4 separate regions of the Homo sapiens genome follow, and regions 2, 3 and 4 are each linked to region 1. The links are contacts of gene promoters, found by promoter capture Hi-C in human tissues and cell types (Jung and others, 2019). All regions are on one chromosome and are shown on one strand. Each heading gives the region's core, a stretch centred on a gene start or on the middle of the fragment in contact. The rest is flanking DNA. Distances are from core to core; before and after follow the strand shown.

Evidence for each region. Contacts are between HindIII fragments. The study calls those that stand out against the background at their distance.
Region 2: a contact is called between a fragment that was not itself captured here and the fragment with the promoter of PTPN23 in region 1, in 2 of the 25 tissues and cell types used here (lymphoblastoid cells and spleen).
Region 3: a contact is called between a fragment that was not itself captured here and the fragment with the promoter of PTPN23 in region 1, in 2 of the 25 tissues and cell types used here (IMR-90 fibroblasts and lymphoblastoid cells).
Region 4: the fragment with the promoter of SMARCC1 here is called in contact with the fragment with the promoter of PTPN23 in region 1 in 1 of the 25 tissues and cell types used here (mesenchymal stem cells).

Annotation. Positions count from the first base shown.
Region 1 is chr3:47,379,612-47,382,311 of GRCh38, forward strand. It overlaps PTPN23 (protein tyrosine phosphatase non-receptor type 23), which reads left to right and starts at 1,410. Exons shown (of 25, transcript NM_015466.4): 1 at 1,410-1,569. The coding sequence starts at 1,486. PTPN23-DT (PTPN23 divergent transcript) reads right to left here and starts at 1,881. Exons shown (of 1, transcript NR_185912.1): 1 at 1-1,881. RefSeq lists enhancers at 796-1,473, 983-1,042, 1,213-1,432, 1,474-2,149. The HindIII fragment of the contact is 13,956 bases long and covers 1-2,700 here.
Region 2 is chr3:46,884,901-46,887,600 of GRCh38, forward strand. The region is part of intron 3 of PTH1R (parathyroid hormone 1 receptor); the gene reads left to right. Among named protein-coding and RNA genes, the nearest start is that of PTH1R, 8.5 kb to the left of the region's middle. The HindIII fragment of the contact is 5,915 bases long and covers 1-2,700 here.
Region 3 is chr3:47,112,145-47,114,844 of GRCh38, forward strand. SETD2 (SET domain containing 2, histone lysine methyltransferase) reads right to left here. Exons shown (of 21, transcript NM_014159.7): 5 at 1,732-1,860. Among named protein-coding and RNA genes, the nearest start is that of SETD2, 51 kb to the right of the region's middle. RefSeq lists enhancers at 1,566-2,073, 2,074-2,582. The HindIII fragment of the contact is 3,414 bases long and covers 1-2,700 here.
Region 4 is chr3:47,780,535-47,783,234 of GRCh38, forward strand. SMARCC1 (SWI/SNF related BAF chromatin remodeling complex subunit C1) reads right to left here and starts at 1,359. Exons shown (of 28, transcript NM_003074.4): 1 at 1,069-1,359. The coding sequence starts at 1,263. RefSeq lists silencers at 833-1,072, 1,253-1,472, 1,883-1,932, 2,043-2,102 and an enhancer at 1,305-1,599. The HindIII fragment of the contact is 21,057 bases long and covers 1-2,700 here.

The sequences.
Region 1 (2,700 bases), core at 160-2,659:
CCGCCCGCCTCGGCCTCCCAAAGTGATGGGATTACAAGCGTGAACCACCGCACCCGGCATCGTGGTCTCCACATTTCATCCAGAACGAGTCAAAGGCCTTGACCTCGAGCTTAACACGGACCTGAACCTTTGCTCTTCCCTTGTTTTCCCTTATCAGTAAACAGCCCCACAGCCACCCACCTGCACAAGCCAGAAGCTTGGAAATCATATTCGACGTCCTCATGCCCTTACATCCATCCATTCCAAGTTCTGATACTTTTGTCTCCAAAATATTCCTCAAATATTTCTCAAAGTGGGCAAAATATTTCTTTGCTCACTTTTTACTTCCCTCTGCTCCAAGCCACAATCACCTGTCTCCTGGAAGACTACAAAAGGCTCACTGATCTCCCAGCTCGCACTTTTGCACTCACTATCTCCAGGCCATTCTCTGTTATTTCTATTGTTACTATTATTATTTTGAGACGGAGTCTCGCTCTGTCGCTCAGGCTGGAGAGCAGTGGCAAGATCTAGGCTCACCGCAATCTCCGCCTCCCAGGTCAAGCGATTGAACCTCCAGCCTCAGCCTCCCGAGTAGCCTATTATTTATTTCTAAAAGTAGGTGATACAGCCATATGATTTAACAATTCCTGCTCTATAGGTCCCCTCTCCAGAGGCAACAGGTGCTCTCCATTCCGTGGTCTCCTTCCAGATACTGTGGGCGTCCCTGGGTGCTCACCTGGCCGTATACCTTCCCCCACCCACTTCCCCACAGGGCCCGGGGCCTCCTCACTCCGCTTGAGACCCTCCATCCAGGCGCTCCCTCCCTATCGTCCGTCTCCCTTGGGCACTGCCCGGCCTCCCAGGCTGGGCTGAGTAGGCCAGTCTCCGGTCAGTGATTCTGTTCCAAAGCTCGAAAGCCTTCGCAGCACTGGGACTGAAACCCCCAGCTCTCAGCCCCGACTCCTTCAGGCCAGGTGCTCCCTCCGCACCCTCTCTAAGGCCCGTTTTCGCGTCATCTCTTTCCAGCGGCCCGCCCGCCACGTCATCTCTACCACAGCACCAGTCCTCCACGGCTCTTGACAATACGTGGGAGGGCAAGTTCATAGGTGAGGTCTCATGCTCTTCCTAGGAGGGAGGAGCGCGGCGGGCGGGACCCGCAGCTGGGCTTGGCCCGGGAGCGGGGAATAAGCTCGCTCCGCGCCTCTCAGTTTAGTGGATGAAGACTACTATCCCAGAAGCCGTTTCGCCTCGGGCTGGCGAGCTCCTCCCCGCCCTACTCCCTCCGCGCGAAGAAGACTGAGCATGCGCAACAGGGACAGCGCCTGCGCAAAAGACTACGCGAGCGGGTGGCTGGGTTCACTGCAACTCCCGGCAGGCCGCTGGCATTTTTCATTCCCTCCCGTGACCAGTGACTTCCGGCACGAAGGGGCGGGGCTGGGCTCGTGGCTGAGCCAGCAGCTGCAGCAGCTACGGGAGTGGCCGGGTGGCCGGCGGGTGCCAGCCGCCATGGAGGCCGTGCCCCGCATGCCCATGATCTGGCTGGACCTGAAGGAGGCCGGTGACTTTCACTTCCAGCCAGCTGTGAAGAAGGTGAGCTTGCCTTCCATCTTCCCCCCTATCCGCCGCGTATCTCCGTCGTCTGCAAGCGCGTGACGCCCCCCTGCGCGCCCATCACCTCCTCAGGCCCGGTCGCAGGGTCCGGTGAGGCCAGGAGGGGCCTTCGCCGGTTTTCCTCAGCCTGTCCCACACCCCGGCGCCCGCAGGCCATTCTTCTCCTCCCCGATAGCCCCGTGCTAGCACCTGCATCTTCATCTGAACCCGGTTCCCGACTTCTGCCCCGAGTCATCCGCTGTTCCCACTGAGGCAGCACACTTCCTCCTTCTGACGCTCGGACCCAGTTCTGCCCCGCCCCTCCTCCATGCCAGGACCGCCCCGCGCGGGAGCGGTGGGCGGCCCTGACCGTGCGGATTCTTTTGCTGCGCCCGGCCCTCGGTGCGCTGTCAAGTCCACGCCCGCCTGGGACAGACACTGGGGATGGCTCAGGGGCGTGTGTTTAAGACGTGAGCCCCGGTGGCCCAGGGAGATGCCCGACCCCTGCGGTGAGGGTTTGTTTTACAATTGCTGCGATTCTGTATGGTCTCCCATTCGGGAGTCTCTTTGGACCAAACAATACAATCCCACGACATTTTTAGGAGGGTTACTGCTTTTCGTAACCGACTGGAGGGCATAAACAGTGTTGTAGAGCTCAGAGAAATCTTACTGTGTTGGAAGAACAGACGGGCAGGTTTGGCGTTGACTAAGGCAAGGAACTTCTGTGGAGAGGTTCAGGTGTGGTGATTGAACACAGGTGCCCTCCGAGACATCCGCTGTATTGGTAGCACTGAGGGCTAGAGCAGAAATGAAAAGGAACAACCAGGAGGCCGTCGCAGGTGGGGGGCCTTGTGGGCTTAGCACAGCAGATGCCAGAGTAAGCCCCAATCTAGATGGTGCACCACTTAGCGAGACGCTTGGGAAGACAAATAGGAAAAAGAAAATGGGTTTGGAAGTAGTTTCCCAAGAAGCTGTCTCCCCTCTAATCGCCATACACCATTGCCTTAGTTCAGACAGTGTTTGAGTCCATCATCTAGCCTCTTGGGGCCAGGAAATGAGGGTAATTGATCCAAAATTCTAGAATTTTGTTAACGGTTATCCAGACGTTGCTCTCTTCTTCATCTGCTGTTT
Region 2 (2,700 bases), core at 81-2,580, 490 kb before region 1:
CCACTTACCTGTGCCTACACCCTCACAATTCTGGCCCCAGCAAAGGCTCCCCACCAAAGACAGCCCCATACAAGGCCTTGTGGATGGGGAAACTGAGGTTCAGAGGAGCTCAACACCCTCTGCAGAGACACTCCAAGTACTGACGAATGCCAGGGGATAGAACTACCACCAACCCCACCCCCGGAGTTTGGTGTGTGACGGCCTGAGGGGTAGACAGGGTGATGGGTGTGGGTGTCCTGAGAGTAAGTCTATGTGTCAGAGCAGGGTTCTGTGGGACTCTGGGCATGGTGTTCATCTGGGTCTGTGTGATTGTGAGTGTCTGAGTCCCTGTGTGAGTTCACGTGTCTGAAGTTGTGGTGCATGACTTGGAGGCGCAGTTGTGTGTGTTTGTGTGTGCCTTTGTGAGCGCCTGTGCACCCGGGCCTGTTGTTTTCTTATGTGTATTTCATAAATGCTTCTGTAGGGCTTTCTACTTGCCATTGTTCTAAGCAATTCACGTACATTAGCTAGTCTAATCCTCCCAACCACCCTCAGAGGAAGGTTATTGTCCCCATTTTTAACTGGCCCGAATCACACAACCACAATGACCATTATTTATCTCATGCCAAGCCCTGTGCCTCTATGTGTGTGTGGAGTATGGGTACCCAGAGCCCCACTGCTCTCCAGGGAAGCTGAGATATATGCAGAGAATCTTCCTGGCTTTGCCCTGGCCCATGTCTGAGAGTAGAAGGACAGATGCCAGTGTTCAGTCTGCCCAGGACCTTGTTGGGGCATGTGAGTTCACTGGACACTCCCTGGCTTCGGGGCCAGAAGATTGGGACTGAAGGGCGGGGGCAGCCTACTCACCCATCCAATATCCTATGGGCCCCCTGGACTCATCTGGGGCCAGCAAGAAGCTGGCAGCCTGCCAGCTCCCTCTCCTGAGCCCAGAGGGCTACTGCCCCCCTTTAGATCTGCACCTATGCCCCTCAAGCCCACCAACCTTATCTCATGGCCGGTCACCAAACCTGTATGCTACCTGCCCAGCTGGTCCCAAGACCAGGCTCACATCTCCAGTGACCTCACATTTGGGGGGCCAAAGAGCATTCCATCTGGAGGACACTGGTTGTGGCCAGACTCAGCTGGTCCATCTTCTGCTGTACAGGAAACAGTTACCTGGGAGCCTGGAGTCTGGGGCGGGGTGGAGTTTGGAGGAAGTGATAGACCCACAGATTGTGAGTAGGAGGCAAAGGGGCACTCTTGTCCTTGAGGATGCGTCCTCCTAAGGACCCCCCCAGCATGTACACATGTGGAGGAGAAACTGCAACAAGAGAAGCTGGAGCTCAGCATGGGGCAGGCCTTGAGTGTGAAGATGTGACCACTGGGTAGGACTCACAAGAGACTGTGGTGTGGACTCACAGGCTGGGAGTGTGTGGGACCTTTTCCAGCCTGCTCCAGGGGCAGCTTGGCCATGTTGCTTGCTTGCTTTTTTTCTTGAGACAGAGTCTCACTCTGTCGCCCAGGCTGGAGTGCAGTAGTGCGATCTCGGCTCACTGCAAGCTCTGCCTCCCGGGTTCACGCCGTTCTCCTGCCTCAGCCTCCTCAGTAGCTGGGATTACAGGCGCCCGCCACCATGCCCAGCTAATTTTTTGTATTTTTAGTAGAGATGGAGTTTCACCGTGTTAGCCAGGATGGTCTCGATCTCCTGACCTCGTGATCCGCCCGCCTCGGCCTCCCAAAGTGCTGGGATTACAGGCGTGAGCCACCACGCCCGGCCGGTTGCTTGCTTTTAAAGACAGGAAGAAGCCAACATGTACAGAACAGTGGCTGTCCCCAGATTCTGAGCTAGAAACTGTCACAGATTGTTTTCTTATTTCATCCATTCACCCAGTGATTTCTACGCTAAAGGGCCCTGAGAGTCACACAGTGAGTCTGTGGCACAGCAGGATTTGAACCCAGATCTTTAGACCTTTGCACTGAATTCCTTCCTCAAAAGCAGCACGAGATTTGCTGCTGGCAGGAGATCCTCATGTCTCACTCTGGGTTTTCTCTTTCTTTTTTCTTTTTTAAAAATTAAATCATGGCCGAGTGCAGTGGCTCACACCTGTAATCCTAACACTTTGGGAGGCCGGGCAGATCACCTGAGGCCAGGAGTTCGAGACCAGCCTGGCCAACATGGTGAAACCCCCATCTCTACTAAGAATACAAAAATTAGCCACGCGTGGTGGTACGTGCCTGTAATCCCAGCTTATTGGAAGGCTGAGGCAGGAGAATCGCTTGAACCCAGGAGGCAGAGGTTGCAGTGAACCGAGATCACGCTGCTGCACTCCACCCTGGGCGACAGAGGCTCTGTAAAAAAGAAAAAAAAAATTAAATCCTTCTGTTATTTTGTTAATTTTTAACTTCACAACTGATATATGAATATGTTCTTATAAAAGAGTCAAACAAGTCTGTAATCCCAGATACTTGAGAGGCTGAGGAGGGAGAATTGCTTGAGCCCAGAAGTTCAAGGCTGCAATGAGCTACGATCATGCCACTTCACTCCAGCCTGGGTGACAGAGTGAGCCCCTGTCTCTGAAAAAAAAAAAAAAAAAAAAAGAGAGAGAGTCAATCAATAAAAATTAAACAGAAGCCCTCCTTGATCACTCCCAAGCCCCAGTTCCCTTCTAGGGAAAACCATTTTTAGCAGTTTGGGTAGAGGGGCGTTCTCCTTCCTCTTTC
Region 3 (2,700 bases), core at 60-2,559, 270 kb before region 1:
GCTCTGTCCCCCAGGCTGGAATGCAGTGCCATGATCTCGGCTCACTGCAACCTCCTCCTCGTGGGTTCAAGCAAATTCTTCTGCCTCAGCCTCCCGAGTAGCTGGGATTACAGCTGTGCGCCATCATGCCTGGCTAATTTTTGTTTTGTTTTTTGAGACAGAGTTTCACTCTTGTCACCCAGGATGGAGTACAATGGCGCAATCTCGGCTCACTGCAACCTTCGCTTCCCCGGTTCAAGAGATTCTCCTGCCTCAGCCCCTCAAGTAACTGGGATTATTGGTGCCTGCCACCACATCCAGCTAATTTTTGTATTTTTAGTAGTGACAGGGTTTCACCACATTGGCCAGGCTGGTCTTGAACTCCTGACCTCAGGTGATCTGCCCACCTCGGCCTCCCAAAGTGCTGGGATTACAGGCGTGAACCACCACGTCCAGCGTAATTTTGGGTTTTTTGTTTGTTTTCGAGATGGAGTCTTGCTCTGTCTCCCAGGCTAGAGGGCAGTGGCATGATCTCGGCTCACTGCAACCTCCACCTCCCAAGTTCAAGCGATTCTCCTACCTCAGCCTCCCAGGTAGCTGGGATTATAGGCGTGCGCCACCACACCCATCTAATTTTTGTATTTTTAGTAGAGACGGGGTTTCGCCATGTTGGCCAGGCTGGTCTCGAACTCCCGACTTCAGGTGATCCACTCACCTTGGCTTCCCAAAGTGCTGGGATTACAAGCATGAGTCACCATGCCCGGCCAAGAATACTTTAAATATGCTATATATAAGAAAATTAAACATTTCCAGGAAATACTGAATATGGTAGAAAATAAAGTGAACCTTTTGCTGTATTACATTAAAAACTTACATCAGTTACATGGAAAGCAACATTTATTCATTCAAGAAATGTTTAATGATTATCTATCAAGTATGTTTTAATTCTTAACCTTGATATGCTCAGGTATTCTCTTCTACTCTTTTTTTTTTTCTTTAAGAGACAAGAGATCACTGCCATCCAGGCTAGAATGCAGTGGCGTGATCACAGCTCACTGTAACCTTGAACTCCCAGGCTCAAGCAGTCCTCCCACTTAGCTTCCCATAGCGCTGAGATTACAAGCATGAGCCACTGCACCTGGCCTTCTCTTCTACTCTTATCCCAACTCAATTTTATGTATACTAATGGATTCTGTCCCAACTTCTTTTTATATAGCTTCATAGAGATTCTGGGGGTCCACAGTAAACACTTGGTAGTTGCTTGGAATTAAAGAAAACATAATTACCAAAAAAGAAAAAAAGATTTTTTAACAACAAACTAGCTACCAAGTGGTCATTCTACATAATAATCATCATTAAACCTCAGTGTAATAAAGAAATTGTTTCCCTACAAAAACATCTAAGTTCAACAACACAAAAATGAAGTGAAGCCCAGGCGCGACGGCTCACACCTGTAATCCCAGCACTTTGGGATGCCAAGGTGGGCGGAAAACTTGCGGTCAGAGTTCGAAACCAGCCTGGCCAACATGGTGAAACAACGTCTCTACCAAAAAAATACAAAAAAAATTAGCTGGGCATGGTGGCATGAGCCTGTAGTTCCAGCTACTTGAGAGGCTAAGGCAGGAGAATTGCTTGAATCCGGGAGGTAGAGGTTCCAGTGAGCCAAGATCGTGCCACTGCACTCCAGTCTGGGTGAAAGAGTGAGACCTTGTCTCAAAAAAGGAAGTGAAAGGTAATTAAAAAAGAACTTACGAAGGAAGGTCTTTGGCAGCTCTCAAGCCCCAGCCTTTCTTTTCTGTGAGTATGACTTCCACATCTGCATGCTGTTTTCTCTGAAACCGTCTATTGGAACAATAATCCCCATTTGGACACCGAGAAGAACTGAAATGAGAAAAGGAGGAAATTTAATTCTTTAAAGCAGCAAAAGAACCAAAGTAACTTTGAAAAAATGTGTTAGTATAACTACATATATACATACTTTTATGGTATAATTAGCATATGTATGACTAACCCCCAACTAAGTCTTCCTTTCCTTCCATCACAAAGGGATTCCTTAGAACTGAGTATCTACATTGTTACTTAAACAGATCATACCCACAATACAGCCTTGATATCTGGTCATCACAGAAATATCTACCACTCCCTAGGTGTCTAGAATACATTTTCAGGCTGCATGTAAGCTTTCAGTACATTGACAACTCTGCAGAACTTATATTCTGTAAGTGCACCTTCCCTTCCTTCTACTCTAATCACTTTTAATTTCATTTTTTGAATGCAGCTAACTACTTGATCTACAATTGAGAAAATCTAAAGTCATTATTAAATATATCCTTGTTCAGAGTAAACAGAATAACATGGCATGGCTCTTCTCCCATGGATCCTAGAGTAAAAATGATAAAATCGAACACTGATTGACTTCTTAATATGTGATAGATATAAAGGTTTTAACGATGATTAAAACTACACCAGAGGGGGCTGAGTACGGTGATTCATGCCTGTAATCCCAGCACTTTGGGAGGCCAAGGCAGGTGGATCACTTGAGGTCAGGAATTCAAGACCACCCTCGCCAACATAGTGAAATCCTGTCTCTCTGAAAAATACAAAAATTAGCCGGGCATGATGGTGCACGCCTGTAATCCCAGCTACTTGGGAGGCTGAGGCAGGAGAATTGTTTGAACCCAGGAGGCAGAGGTTGTAGTGAGTCAAGATTGTGCCACTGCA
Region 4 (2,700 bases), core at 109-2,608, 400 kb after region 1:
TTCACTGAGCTGCTGAGGCCAAAAAAATAGGTTCCTAAACTAGTTTATGTTTTCATTCATTCAACAAATATTTACTAAGCAGCCACTAAGGGTAAGGCAATAAGTATCAGCCACGTTCCCGGATACACTGCAGTGAACAAAGCCCTTGCTTCAGTGCTATGATTCTCAATAGGAGAAAGTACAGAACTAAAGAGGGTGATAGGAAAACTTCAGAGGCTGGGGAGCCTTTTCGGCTACCTGCTTCATTACACCCTTTAAGGGAGTCCTCCTGAATATTTACACAAAAGGGAAGTTGGAAAAAAAAAAAACATTTGTTATAAACAAAGGATTAAGTCAAAACTTTGAAAACTACTGACTCGGCGGAACTTCCGTTCCAAAGGTAGGAGAAATCAGTAAATGAATAATTTCAAAATGTGGTAAACACTACGAAGAAAATAAAGGTGACACAAGAAAAGTGCTCTAATAAAAACTGGGTTCTTGGGGAAGGCCTCCCTTTAGAACACTTTACGTACAAGCGACCATCAACTCTCACGCCACACAGAACCAGAAGCACGATGAGGTAGAACCGTCGTTAATAGTTCTCATCCATCCTAGAATTCATATTGCCTGTTATTAATTAACGAATACAATCATCCCAGTCGTTTAGCAATTCAACAACAGGTAGCAAACCCCCTCGAGACTTTGAATACGCTCTAAACAAAACTTGAAGCTGCTTTTACCACGCTTGCTCGGTCTTTAGGGATCATTGTTCACACACCTAAGGCAGCTGACAAAAGAGAGAGAGTCACACTCGCTTAGTGGCTGAGCTCGACCTGCTCTGGCACACGAGACTGAGCAGGGGCTTTCACCATGGGTGCGTAGGCTCAGAGGAGAGAGCCCCGAACCCCAGTCAGGCCCCGGGATCGCGGGCGCCCAGAGCGGGCGGCGGGGGCGTGGCGGGCCCGGCGCCTGCCTTTGTTGTCCCTCGTGGCGTGCGGGGGGGAGGGGCGGCCCGAGGCCCGCGAGGCCAGCTGCCGCCTCCGGCCCCGGTCGCGTGGTCTCCCGGCCCCCACGGGCGCGCGAACCCACCTTCTTGTAGTGCTTGCCCAGCCAGACCCGCACCGAATCCAGCTGGGACACCGTCTCCGGGCTCTCCCAAAACTTGGTGGCCGGGCCCCCATCCTTCCGTCGATAAACAGCTAGGCCTGCGGCTGCCGCCGCAATCCCCGAGCCCGTGGCGCCTACCGCTGTCCCCGGCCCGCCGCCGCCCGCCGCTGCGGCCATCGTCGCAGCCCGTCGTCCCCACAGCCTGGCCCACCCCGGCCCTCGCGGTGTTTCCCGGTCGTTCCCGCGCGCACCCCCGCGCGCGTAGCCGCCACTGCCGCTTCCCGGCCCCGCCCAGCCAACCCTCTTCCGGCGCGGACGCCCGGCCCCGCCCCATCTGGGAACTGGCACTGTATCTGACGCGAGCCAGCGCACGCGCATGCGTAGCACTCGTGCGGCCGTGCCTTGGAATAGCACGTCCTGCGGCCTCAGCCGCCTCTTCCGCCATCCTCCGTAGGCTGCATTCTGCCCTAGTGAGCGCCGGTTTTTGAGCCTTGCTCTTCCCTCGCTACCGACGTCGAATCATTATGCGGTCAACAACCGCAGGTGGGTTATGTGTCATAGCCCGCCTCCGCTGGAGGGAAAAGGCCTGGTGCGAGAAATGCCCAAGGGAAAGCCTGTCTAGGGTATCGAGTGCTGGCCGAGGGCCCTGCACCCGGACTGGGACTGCGCCGGGCCCCGCTTTCCCTCAGGCCCTCCACCCCCAGCGGCCCGGCGGCATTTGTGAACAGCCATCTGGGACTCCCACGCCTAGGCTTTTCGGCTTCACAGACCTTCCACTCCCTCAGGGGTCCAGCCACAGCGGCTCATTCCTGCCCCAGGGGCCCTTGCACTGGCTCTTTCGAGACCTCAGCAGGTCTTCCCTTCTGATTTGCACTTACGAGACGCGTTCAGATTCACTGCTTCAAAGGACTTCAGAAAGTAGTTGTCAGATCTTAACAATCTTGAACAACTGTTCACACCCATACACTTTCTGCATAGCGCTCACCACGACCCGGCGTTTCTAGTTTCTCATTTACCTTCCACATAAATTACATGAGAACCTAATCTTAACTTGTTCACAGGTGTATCCTGAACACCTGAGACAAGGAACAGATGTACAGTAAATACTTGATGAGTTAATGAATGGCCCACATAGAAGCCGAAAATTTTTAAATTATTAACAAGGTATATTGGCCGGGTGCGGAGCACTTTGGGAGGCTGAGGCGGGAGGATCAATTGAGCCCAGGAGCTCTAGACCACCACACCCATCCCCGTCTCTACAAAAAATACAAAAATCAGCCAGCGTTGTGTTGCAAGCCTGTGGTCCTAGCCTCTTGGAGGGCTGAGGTGGGAGGATCCCTTGAGCTGGGGAGATGGAGGCTGCAGTGAGCTATAATCGCGCCACTCACTACACTTCAGCTTGGGCGACAGAGCGAAACCCTGTTTCAGAAACATAAAAAGTATGACTGGCCATAATGGAGTTGTGAACATAATGCTATATGATCGCAGAGAAGCAAGTAACTAATTGCTTGTGAGAACGTGACTAACTGCTGGTAAGTTTCTGAGATCTTTTAAAAATGAGGGTGTGTACATGTTTTCAGGATCTCCTGAGGGCTGTGTCACGGACAGTAAAAT